Linked DNA regions of Homo sapiens: region 1 is linked to region 2. The links are contacts of gene promoters, found by promoter capture Hi-C in blood cells and fetal thymus (Javierre and others, 2016). All regions are on one chromosome and are shown on one strand. Each heading gives the region's core, a stretch centred on a gene start or on the middle of the fragment in contact. The rest is flanking DNA. Distances are from core to core; before and after follow the strand shown.

Evidence for each region. Contacts are between HindIII fragments. The CHiCAGO score rates a contact against its expected background, and 5 or more counts as called.
Region 1: a contact is called between a fragment that was not itself captured here and the fragment with the promoter of TCEAL6 in region 2, in 5 of 17 cell types (total CD8 T cells, naive CD4 T cells, total CD4 T cells and 2 more). The highest score is 7.0, in total CD8 T cells.

What each region holds. Positions count from the first base shown.
Region 1 is chrX:102,893,854-102,900,301 of GRCh38, reverse strand. ARMCX5-GPRASP2 (ARMCX5-GPRASP2 readthrough) reads right to left here. Exons shown (of 19, transcript NR_146584.3): 15 at 2,538-2,728. It overlaps LINC00630 (long intergenic non-protein coding RNA 630), which reads right to left. Exons shown (of 12, transcript NR_146589.1): 6 at 2,538-2,728. Among named protein-coding and RNA genes, the nearest start is that of RAB40AL, 40 kb to the left of the region's middle. The HindIII fragment of the contact is 5,900 bases long and covers 1-5,394 here.
Region 2 is chrX:102,141,231-102,147,883 of GRCh38, reverse strand. TCEAL6 (transcription elongation factor A like 6) reads left to right here and starts at 5,403. Exons shown (of 3, transcript NM_001006938.3): 1 at 5,403-5,531; 2 at 6,098-6,170; 3 at 6,529-6,653. The coding sequence starts at 6,553. LOC105373299 (a long non-coding RNA gene) reads right to left here and starts at 6,156. Exons shown (of 3, transcript XR_007068283.1): 1 at 6,075-6,156; 2 at 4,776-4,890; 3 at 3,919-4,241. The HindIII fragment of the contact is 10,164 bases long and covers 1-6,653 here.

The DNA.
Region 1 (6,448 bases), core at 1,195-3,694, 760 kb before region 2:
GGGACGACAGCAAATGGAACTGCTTTAATATACACGCGAATACTCCAAACAACTGGTATTTCAGTGAACAAACCATGTTATAACATCTGTTACTGTTTGTTAGATGTACTCCTTTTCCTTAAAAAAGAACAAATGTGAAGATGGCTGCGATGTCTCCTAGTGGCCAGAGCCAGGATTGCAACTCTGAGAGCTGACTGGTGAGTTCAGCAGGGGAAAGGGAGGGATGGAGGTTGGGAGGTTGATTAATGTGATCAGCCAGTTTTCTGGAATTTTTTACGTACCTACAGGAATCCCTCTGTATCCATCATTTTTCTGGGTTATAAAAAAGTACGTTTTCGGGGATATCTAAATCTGATATTGGAAGTACAGCATCAGTCTGAACTGGGGATAATGCTGCAATTGTGAACTGTATTTGAGGTGGTAGAGCTAGAGGAGCTAGAACACACACACACACACACTTGCGTGTGAGTCAATTCATTTTTTAAAAATCTACTTTATTTCCCCAGGAAATTGAATAAATGAATGCCTGAAGTAAGGAATATATGTGTACCATACTCTTGTCAATATGTTCACAGCATATTGTTTTTAATATTTCATCAAAATACTTTTTCCTGAATATAAAATGTAAAACAATATATAAAAACACATATATGAATTGAAATTAACCTGTATCTCTCACTGGAGCAGCTCCTAATCCCTGACCCCTAGTTGTCTGCTGTCCACAGAATGGTGCATACTGTGAAATGTGTCTCCACAAGTGAGATGCACACAAATATGTTCACCTACACACACACAGTCTGTTCCAAAGGTCGAATCACATCCTTATCTTCTTTTGCAACCTATTTTTTCCACTTTTCTTCTCAGGATTTATATTTACATCTTATTAGTTTTTGTGGTTTTGGCATAGTTAATGTGTTTATTGTTCATGTATCTAACTATTTGACTTCTCCACTGAAATTATTTGCCAAGCTCTTTGTTAGTGTGCTTCACAAAGCATGAATTCTAATCCAGTATCTCAGCTCTAGTTTGTACGGATTTTTCCAGAGTTTTTACGCTATTCTTAGTTTTTTTTAATTTAGAATTTTTCAATTTAAATTATCTTCTGACTTAAAACCACATGGATCACAATTTTTAAAAAAATGTTAAACTGCCTTGGAACATGTAATGGCAGTGCCCAAGGAGATTAGATCATTCCCGAGACCAGGAGGCACAGAGACAAACTGGAGAAAACTTTAGAATAATTCAGAATTACCTGCTAATCGAGACACAACAAAGGTATTTCCCTGATGTACAGAAACTTGCCTAAAGTACCCTGATCTGAATAATGGTCATAATTCAGTGGGTATTCTTGTGGGTAACTTGAATAGCTGTTGACATTAAAGAAGATGAAATACAGAGTGCATTTGCCTAAAGGAGTTGCGATGGTTAACACTGAGTGTAAACTTGATTGGATTGAAGGATACAAAGTATTAATCCCGGTTGTGTCTGTGTGGGTGTTGCCAAAAGAGATTAACATTTGAGTCAGTGGGCTGGGAAAGGCAGATCCACCCTTAATCTGGTGGGCACAATCTAATCAGCTTCCAGCAAATATAAAGCAGGCAGAAAAATGTGAAAAAGAGAGACGGGCCTAGCCTCCCAGCCTACATCTTTCTCCCGTGCTGGATGCTTCCTGCCCTCAAACATTGGACTCAAAGTTCTTCAGTTTTGGGACTCGGACTGACTCTCCTTGTTCCTCAGCTTGCAGACAGCCTATTGTGGGACCCTGTGACTGTGTAAGTTAATACTTAATAAACTCATATATATATACACACACATATATATGCTCACCTGTCTCAAGTACAACACTTGAGTTTCTGCCTGAGCCCACTCACCACTTCAGGCATCAGCCAACTCATGTGTCCCTACACACAGGTCTCTTGGCACAAAGAATGGGATCTCACCTCTGTCATCTTCACCCAGAAAAGTTGTTGAGTAAAGACTCATGGGGTTACAATAGCAGGTGGGTGAAATCTCACCATTTCTCAAGCCCAGAAACCCATCTTCTAAAAGGGAGGCTGCTCAGGGTACTCTAGGGAGGGTGAGGGATGGAATTTCATTCAAACCCTGCCACTTACCTGAAGAGGTGACTTAGGCTCTGTGAGCCTGAGGTTAGTCATCTGTGAAATGGGACTGACCATACCATCCTTACATAGCTGTCTGATGGGTATATGAGGAAACCTCTTGAGAGTATATGGCATGGGGTGGGACTTAAATGGCCTTTAAATGGGACACAGCACTAGGGGCTGGCTGAGCCTCAGTGCTAAGGCAGGCATTGTGAAAAATCATTTCTCATTGCTCCCCCTTATGAGAACACAGACATCTATTTGAAGAAAGCAAATGTCCCTGTGACATGCCTTGAGTTCAAAGTTTTGTAGACAGTAGTTTCTCTGCTTCGTGGGTGTTATCAGAAGCTCGTAAGAGCTGCCCAACATCATGCTTCTGAGATGACCCAAATTTAGTTCCCCACACTGGGAAGACAGGCATGTCTTTGAACTTACCTGCTGAGCTCAGAGACAGCAGCAGGGATGCAAGGTTTGGTGTTCGCCCAGTGGCTGCTCCTAGACTACTTGGTATGTTAATATATTTATTGGTATATTCTAGATCTGTCCCAAAATCACCAGTGCAGGGGTTTTCAGATCATGCATTAACCAGCCACATCGGATCAGAATTTCAGCCATCTGCTGCCTCCCTGAGAGACAAAAATCCAAGAGTTACTAGCATTTCTTCACACACAATGTCTATTCTTTCATTAGGTAATAACTAAATACCTATTGAGCTCAAACCCATTCTATTCCATCAGAGGTATCTCATGAGCTCCAATGTGATATAAAAGCATAAGGGAAATAAACATGTGGTCAACTTCAAGGGTTAATTCTGAGATAGCTTTTTTTTCACATTAGCTTTTAACTTGGTCAAGTTTCAAGAAATTGAAGATTTAAAAAAAAAATCTCTCCTTGGACCCCCTTATCACCCATTCAGCTACAGGATACAGTTCTCCCTGTCTCTGTCTCTCCCTCCCTTATCCTTCTTCTCCTTCATATTCGAAGTACCAAAAAGAGTTTTCTACATGCTCTGTTAACATTTTTCACTTCCCACTCATCATCCCACTGCCCTATGGCTTCTGTCTCTGGGATTGCCATGAACATTCTCTCCAAAGTCATAATCCACCCATTTCTTACTAGGTCCAGGTTTTGTATAAATACACTAACATAGGGCATATTACTTTTAATGAGCTCCTAAAGTATGTATGCTTGCAGACTGCTTCTTTCACCTAACAACAGAGCTTTCACAGTTTCCCAGGCTCTAGAGCATGATGCACTGGACATAAGTCCAAGCTGTCCCACTCCTTAACTGTTCAGTCTTAGGCAAAGTCATTATCCTCTCTGTCCCTCAGTTTTCCATTTGTAAAATTGAATTCTGCAATAGTATTTAACTCATAAGTGTGTTCTGGGCACTGAATGATCCAATACATTAAAAGCATATAGTACCTACGAAATGTTGGCACTTTTAAATACTTTTCACATGTCTTACTGGCATTCGTATCCCTGTAGCCATGAAAAAAAATTAGGGTATTGACCAATGTTTATTCATAATCAATGACATTTGGGGTATGATGTTTGTACATGTAATAGTTTCCTAGGGCCACCATAACAAATTATCATAAACTTTGCATATTTAAACAACAGCAATTTATTATGCCATGATTCCGATGTACAAAACCAAAGCCTGAAGTACAAAATCAAGGTGTAGGCAGGACTGCACTGCCTCCAAAGCCTTTAGGGGAGAATCCTTTCTTAGCTCTTCCAGCTTCTTGTGGCTCCTGCTTTATTTGATTTGAGGTGGCATAACTCAATCTCTGCCTCAATATTCACATGGCCTTCTTCCCTGGATGTGTCAAATCTCCCTCTGCTTTCTTTTATATAGATACCAGTCATTGGAGTTAGGCATCAACCTACATTCAGGATATTCCCTTCTGGAGATCTTTCACTTCATTATGTCTACATAGAACCTATTTCCAAATAAAGTTTGTGTGGGTTAGGATTGGGACATGTTTTGAGGGGGACACAATTCTACCCACTACAGTTAAATAAGCAAGTTACACTACTAAATGGAAGATAAAGTATCTTCTGTATGTACATGGACTGGCTGATCTCTGAGATGTTGAACTAGACCAAGCTGTGGCCCTTTGGAAAGGGAACCTGGATGGTAGTCTATTAACAGGTACACAACTACTATATAAAGGGTATTTTATATTTCATCTCATTTTGATTTCAACAATTCTATCCAGTACCAATAATTATGCCCATTAGTTGGATCAGGGAACACAAATTAAAAGACTGGTAACTTGATCTAGGGAAACTACCTTATAAACTATTGTTCCAGGATTCTAAACCTAGAATTATTCAAAACATTTTTTCCCTTCTGTCCTGTCAGCTAACATTTGATATAACTTCAAGCATATATATATATATATATATATTTTTTTTTTTTTTTTTTTGAGATGGAGTCTTGCTCTGTCACCCAGGCTGGAGTGCAGTGGCATGATCTTGGCTTATTGCAGCCTCTTCCTCCCAGGTTCAAGCGATTCTCCTGCCTCAGCCTCCTGAGTAGCTGGGACTACAGGTGTGCATCACCAAGCCCAGATAATTTTTTGTATTTTTAATAGAGATGGGGTTTCCTGATGTTGGCCAGGCTAGTCTCAAACTCCTGACCTCAAGTGATCTGCCCATGTCGGCCCCCCAAAGTGCTGGGATTACAGGTGTGAGCCACTGCACCCAGCCTTAAAGCATTATTATTGTTGAGTTGTTCTTTCGAAAACAATGTGCTGAAGTGCTTTTTAAATAGTAAAAAATTATAAAGTATAGAATTGTATCTGTATAGCCAAAATAGAAAATAAAAAGAAATATAAAAATTTGGGAGAAATTATTTCTAACCCATATTCAATCATGCTTTATATCCTCCAAATATGAAATATTCATGAACAAGAGAAGTAAGCCAATCATATCAAGAGACAATATATAAATCTCAGAAAAATGATATAAATTCCAACACTTGGGAATACACCAAAACAAAAAATATGAAACAGAATCATATTTAGTCAACCAGTTAAGTCATAAATTATAATGTAGTGCATGGATTTATGTAAAATAATTTATATAGATAGATTAACATGGATTTAGAGGTGTGTGTGTCAATAAAAGTAAGTTAGTATACTACATGCAGAGAAAAACATCCGAAGAGTACATACCAATAAATTAAGAGAAACTATCTTTGTATTATGGAGAAGGAGAAGGTGTGACAGATAGAAAATATTTTTAATATGTAATATACATTTCGATTATATTTGATAAAGCTTAAACAATGAAAATAATTAACTGATAATGTGATAAAGTTATTGAGATTCTGTTCTGTAAATCAGAAAACTCTGTGACCCTAGTCACAAAATTATAGTGTAGAAATGCATTTATTAAGAATCATGTTCATATGCTGCTGTGTGAAAATAGTACATTAAAAAATTCTATTTCATAAATCAGTGTGTGCACATTGTAGGGAGACAGGATTCTTTTATTTTATAAATGTGCAATTCTCTAGTGTTTTAAATTTAGAAACCTTATTGTACAAAATGTGGAAAACAAAAAGTTGTGAAATTACAAATATGATGCTCTTATATTCATTGCTTTGGAAACATGTTCACATTATACTGTTTTATGCGTAAGACAAGTAGGTCAAAACTATTTATTTGACAGTGTGTTTGTATGTTTCAGTGTGGGTATCTGCATGTTGTTTGTATCTCAGTCTTCTTCACAACAATTATACACACACAAACTCTTGCAGCTTTCTATTCAGTTCGCAGATAGAGAGTAAGGATAAGGTCACCCTTGTGTTGGTTTCATCCTTGGTTCTCCTCATGAGTAAGGGACTACATGCTTACTTTCTCTTTTAGCCCTTCACTATATCAGAGTTGTGGATTTCTGGTTTTGTGCTTGTCTTTTCCCTAGGAGAGAAGTCCCTCCCATTTGGTCTTCTAGCTGACATGGAGTTTCTGCTTTATGCAAGACTGCCTCTCCCATTTGAGGGATGTGGACCCAGATCCACAAAAGACTGAAAAGAGTAGAGACTGAATTGTCAAAGACAAGCACAGGAGTAGGACTCCTATCCAAATATCTAATTCTCCTGATTTAGTGAGATGGCTTTCATGAACTTCTCACATGATGTTCTCCTCCCCTCAGCATTCCTCTTACTCTGTGGGGAAATAGGAATTCTCATACATTGCTAGAAGTAATGTTAAATGGTACAATCCCTGTTGGGGGGGGGTTGATGCTATCTATAAAAATACATTGGTATTTACTCTTGGAAACAGCAATCCCTCTTCTAAAAATCCATCCCAAAGAAACACTGCAAAAAAGAT
Region 2 (6,653 bases), core at 4,154-6,653:
ACTTTAAGGATAAATTAAGACACTCTCAAATAACAAACAGTGAGTAATTTTTAATCAGCAGCACTGTCCTACAATAAATACCAATGAGTCTTTCATGCTGAAATTAGAAAACACTAAATGGTAACATGAATCCACATGAAGAAATAAAGAACACTAGTAAGGTAACTAAATAGGTAAATATAAAAGACAGTGTGGTAGACAGAATAGTGGGTTTCCAAAAGTTATGCATGTCCAAACCCCTGGAACCTGTGAATGTTACTTTTTATGCCAAAAAGAGACTTTGAAGATGTTATTAGGTATCTTGAGATGTTATTAAGTGTCTTAATTATCCTGAATTATCTAGGTGGGCCCTAAATGCAATCACAAGTGTTCTTATAAGGAGACACAGGGAAATTTGACACAAAGGAGAAAGAAAGGTATGTGATGATGGAAGCAGAGAGACATTTGAAGATACTATGCTGCTGGCTTTTAAGATGAATGAAGGGGACGTAAGCCAAGGAATACAAGAAATTCAGCTCCAGAAGTTGAAAAAAATAAGGCAGTGGATACCTGCTGACTCTGGTTAAAACCCCATGAAGGCATTTTAATTTCTTACTTCTAGCATTGTAAGAGAATAAGTTTTTCCTATTTTAAGCCACTAAGTTTGTGGTAATTGTTACAGCAACAATAGGAAATAAATACAAATAGTTATAAACGTATATTTGTCTGTAACTCATTTTTCTCTTATTAGATTAGAAAGAAAACTTGATAAAACAATAATTACAAAACAGATATAATGGCTAAGATGTAATTTCTATGACACTCTTCCTAAATCACAAAGGAGGAAAGAGGAAATGGAGATAGTTTTGCATCCCATTAAAATTATTGATACAAATTCACTTGTTTTAAATTAATATACTAATTTTAATCCCTAGGCCAACTACACAAGAAAATTATTCAAAAACTTTGTACAAGAAAAAGGAGAATTAAAATGGTAGGCCAAAAAAATATCCTTTTAAAAGTAATTCAATAATGGAGAAATAGAGGAACAAAAACACACAACAAATGGAAAACAAATAGCAAAACAGCAAATGTAAATATCACCTTATCATTATTGCATTAAATATAAGTTGATTAAACACTTCAGTCAAAAGGCAGAAAGTAGCAGAATGGGTAAAAAAAAAAAAGCATGATACAACTATACACTATCTAAAAGAGAATATATTTAAATAAGCAAATAAAATTAATGTGAAAGGATGGAAAATATATACTATGCAAAGAATAACCAAAAGAGTCAGATGAAAAAGACATTAAGACAAAAAATGTTATCGTAGAATAAAAACGTGTTATATAACAAGTCCTATCCTTCAGGACTATACAAAAATTATAAACATATATGAACATAAAACAGATTTCCAAAATACATAAAGCAAAAACTTACAGAATAGAAGGAAAAAATTAGAAGAGAATCAAGATAATTTAACAATAGTAATTGGAGACTTCAAAACCACACATTCAAAAATAAATGAAACAAATAAGAATATCAACAAGGAAACAGAAGACTTAAACAAAACTACAAAACCAACTGGAATAACAGACATGTATAGAACACTCCAAACAGCATAAGCATACACATTCTTGTCAAGCACCCATGGAACATTTTCCTGGAAAGACTACATAATAAATAATAAAATCCTATATACACTTAAAAGTATTGAAATTATAAAAATAATATTCCATGATCATAATGGAATTAAATTTGTAATCAACAACATAAAGAAATTCAAAAACCCTGCAAATATGTGGAAATTAAACAATGTACTTCAATTCAACCTGAAATATCATGAGAGAAATTGGAAAATACTTTAAAAACAAAAAAAAACCCCACAACACATCAAAAGTTATGGGATATAGTTAAGCAGCATTTAGATGGAAATGTGTAACAGTAAATGTTTACTTTGAAAAGATGAAAATCCCATATCAGTAAACTTTCATCTTAAAAAGCTACAGAAAGAAGAGCAACTTAAATCAAAGAAATCAGAAGGAAGGGAATAGTAACCACTAGAGTGGAAATAAATGAATTACAGAATAGAACATCAATGAAACTAAAAGTTTGTTCTTTGAAAATATATATAAAACCTGACAAAACTTTAGCTACACTCACCAATAAAAAATGATGAAGACTGAAACTATTAAAATCAGGAATAAAAGAGGGGTCATCATTAGCAACTCTACAGATATATAAAAAAAGATTATAAGGTAATACTATTAACAACTGCATGACAAAAAAATGAGACAAGGTAGATGAATGGGATGAATTCCAAAAAAGACACAACCTACCCAATTGACTTAAAAAGAAATAGAAACACAAGTAACATCATTAAAAATGGTAGTGTATGGAACTCCGGAACTCCATAATGAGCAATTAGTGAGCTGGCAAAAACTGCTACCATCAGCTTTCTCAGAACTCTGGAATCCAGTCAAAAAATTATAACAATGAGAGGAAAATTTGGTGAAGAATAAAAGCTGCTAATTTGTGGTAAGAAAGAAATTTTCAATTGCCTATCTACCATTCTCTATGCCCCAGATTAGCAGTGATCTGTTGATGATAGCCCACTATCCTGGTTTAGATAGCTAGTACCAGTGGTAGGAATTTGGACCGTATTCTCATAGAAGTGTGGTATGGCTATCAGCCTGCCTGGCAGCACTTTCATCACTAAGGCTTCTTTCATTACACCAGACTGGGAGGACTCCCAGGGCTTGGGCTGCATTGGCTCTCCAGTTGGCTTTTGCCAGAAGCATTTAAAATCACAGGTATTGACCAAAGAAGTCTGGAGCAAAGGACAACACTCAGAATAAGCAATGAACAGACCGAGAAGCCTGAGAAGGAAGAGTTAGGGAAACAAGATATGTGGAAGAACAAGCATTTTAAAAAACCCTTTATATATACTGGAAAATCAAGAAGGCCATGTGTATGCCAAGGGTGGGACACATACTCAGAAAAGACCAGAGAAAATGCAAGCATTCAACTTCATTGAATTTGAGCTTCAGGCTCTGCATAAGAAAAATGCAAAGCATTAAAAAGGTACTCCAACTCAGAGTTCATCTGCAAAGACTGGGAAATTTGTTTTGTTTTGTTTTGTTTTTGAGATGGAGCCTCACTCTCTAGCCCAAGCTGGAGTACAGTGGCATGATATCCGCTCACTGCAACCTTCGCCTCTGGGGCTCAAGTGATTCTCCTGTCTCAGCCTCCCAAGTAGCTGGGACTAGAGACGTGCGCCACCACACCTGGTAAATTTTTTTGTATTTTTAGTAGAGACGGGGTTTCACCATGTTGCCCTGGGTGGTCTTGAACTCCTGAGCCCAGGCGATCCACCTGCCTCGGCCTCCCCAAGTGCTGGGATTACAGGTGTGAGCCACCGCGCCAGGCCAGGAAATTATTTTTTTATTTATTGTTTTTCTTTTGTTGGCTTTAGGTACTTAGAGTAACGGCATCCAAACACCAGCTGATTAATAAGCTAATAAAACACAGACTTCAGTGGCCACACATGACAAAGAATACATAATTTGCTAAAATACTTTAAAAAGTCACTAAGTAAACAATAACCCACGAGAGAGTAACAACAAAACCCAAGGAAGAGGGAAAATCTAATTTCCAGAGTCAACATATTAGAATCAAAATATACAGATTTCAACAAAACTTTGTGAGGCATATAAGGAAATAAGAAAACATAGCCCATACACAGGAAAGAAATAATTAGATACTATCATGAAAAAGCCCGTGTATTAGAATATCTAGAAAATATTTTTAATCAACTGTCTTATATATGCTCGAAGAACTAAAGGAAATCGTAAACAAAGGACTAAAGAAAAAGAGAAGAATGTCTCAGCAAATACACAATATCAGTAAAGATGTAAAAATACAAAGAGATGTAGAAATTATAAAATAAATAGAAATTCTTTATTTGAAAAGTACAATAACTAAAAGTCACTAGAGGGGTACAACAGTAGGTTTGGGCAGGCAAAAGAATCAGTGAACTTAAAATAGGTCAATTGAGATTATTCAGTCCGAGGAGCAGAAAAATAAAAGTAATGTGAAAAATGAACAGAGCACACCTATGCATGATGGGGGTTCAACAAGGAGAGAAACAGAATAGAGAAGAAAGAATTTTCAAAGGAAAAATGACTGCAAATTACTCAAACTTGAGGAAAGACACTAATCGATGTATCCAAGAAGTTCAATACACTCCAAACAGGATAATCTGAAAGAGATCCAAACAAAAACATGTTATAAGTATCTTGTCAAAACCCAAATATATGACACTACACTGTAGTGACAAGAATATTAAAAATTTTCTAGTTCTTTGGGTTCAGTGGTGGTTTCACAAATGTGAAAGAGAAAAACAATGGAAGGAAAGTAAACAGTTATTAGCAATTTTCTAGTTCTTTGGGTTTAGTGGTGGTTTCACAAATGTGAAAGAGAAAAACAATGGAACGAAAGTAAACAGTGGGGGAAAAGAAGGGAAAGCAGGGGAGAGAAGAGTAGTCAATGAGAAGAGCATGTTGTGAACCAAGGGTTATGATGAATTTGTGGATCTGCAGTTCATATTAAAAACGTTTGAATGCTTTCCTTTCTAGCTGTCTGACATTCTCTTTCTATGAAAACTGGTCAACTGTTGGAAGGTAACTTTCAAGTGTGGAGAAAGGCCAATGGAGATTATAAGAAGGAAGTTGGTAAATCAATTTGGGGTACATGGGCTTTTGAAATCAATTTGTGGTACAGGGTTTTTACATACCGTGTCCCTCAGGGATACTCAGGCGGTGATGTCCAATAAACAGTTGGCAAAGCTGATATGAGACACGGAGAAGGGAACAGCCTGGAGCTGTAGATCTGGGAGTCATCGGTGTTTACTGGAAATGAATGAGATCACACAGGGAGAGACAACTTGAGGACTGAGGAGAGAGGAGGCCCAGGACAGAACCCCAGGAACACCGCCACTCAAGGTGGCAGCTCAGCTTCCTGGCAGGCACCACTACCCCCCGGGCTCTGGAGTCAGGCAGAGCCGGTATTGAAAGTGGGCTGTGGAGTTCTGGGGCTAAGCGCTCTTGGCAAAGTCGGGTACCCTCTCTGATCAGCTGTCACACCTGGCGATAATGGGCATCAGAGAGAGATGCCTTGCGAGGATGCTGTGAGCTGCGTCAGGTAAAGCACCTGAGATCAGAAAGCCACCCCCTCCTCCTCTTCTTCTTGATGACCCCCACTCCTTTGTTACACACACCCTCTCCCACCTTCCGCAACCTCCTGGTCCCTCGGGGATGGATGGTGAGGTGGGCGGGAAGGGGGTGGTGGTGGCCTAGCTCCCGTGACGCGGTGCTCACGTGAGTGACCAGGCGCCTACGTGGGCACCAGCCCCCGCGCCCGCCCGCCCGCCCAGCGGTCCGGTCCAGGCGCCCGCGCAGAATCAGCTGTCTGAGCTGCCCAGGCGGCGGGGGAGCAGCGAGCGGGCTTCAGCGAGCCGCAGGAGGCACAGGCCTGTCCTGGGTCCCCGCAGGTCAGTGTGAAGGCGTGCGCTGCCGGCGGACCCTGGGACAGGGGTGGAGGGGGCTGGCAGTAGGATTGGGGAGGGGGCGGAGAAGGGATCCGGTAGATTGGGGAGGAGGGGGATGCTGAGCGGGCCGGGGCGGGGGCAGGGGAGGGAGCACCCCGAAGCGAACCTGGCTCGCCTTCTCGACGCCCCTTGCACTGAGCCCTCCATCCATTTTAGTGCTGGAAATGGGGGGCTGGGGGTAGCGACCCCGCAGTGCGACAGTGAAACACAGACTTATTCTGGAAATAACCCCCTCTCACAATCCGCTCCCATGGAAACATCTGACCTCCGCAAAAACGGGGTGGCGCTGAGACAGGTTGCCTCCGGGGGAAGGGGCACAAAGAGGCAAACGCAGTTTGGAAGCATCCTGGTTTGGTGCCCGAGGCCTGGAAAGAAATGGCGGCTGGGGTGCGGGGGAGGTAGGGGAGGAAAACATTGGGTGAGCAGGGCCTAGACTCAGAAAAGGGAACGGAGTCCCTGTGAGCCCGCTGAGCGCGCAGCCCCTACCCCTGTCTCCTGTCTGTCCGCAGGTCTGCGCGTCTGTTGTTCCCAGCGCTCTTGGAGGCCTGCAAAGGAAGAGCAACCTGTCCAGACTCCCCGCAGGTCCGTGAAAGCAGGGGGCTGCATGGACAGGGGCCCACAAGGGTTGAGAGTGTGGAGGGCCCGGCCAAGGCCAAATTGGGACCCCTGCACATAACCCCACCCACGTGAACACACACCTTACCAGGCTGAATCAGTTCAGAGAAGGTGGCAGGGCCTGCCAGGGTATGGCTGGCTCACGTGTGTGGGAGGAGTGGTGGGCTACGTGCTGGGCAGAAGGCCCTCTTGGAGGCCCGGCCAGCTTAGGGGAACCCTCACCAGGGGTGAGATGCAAGTAGTATCCAGACCTGCATTCCACCCCATGCCCTCAGTCTCCCATGTCTCTTATTTGTCTCCTCTTCCCTCCACTGTCATCCCCCAGGACAGGAAAAAGAGAAATCTCGACATGGAAAAACCCTACAATAAAAATGAAGGAAACCTGGAAAACGAGGGAAAGCCAGAAGATGAAGTAGAGCCTGATGATGAAGGAAAGTCAGACGAGGAAGA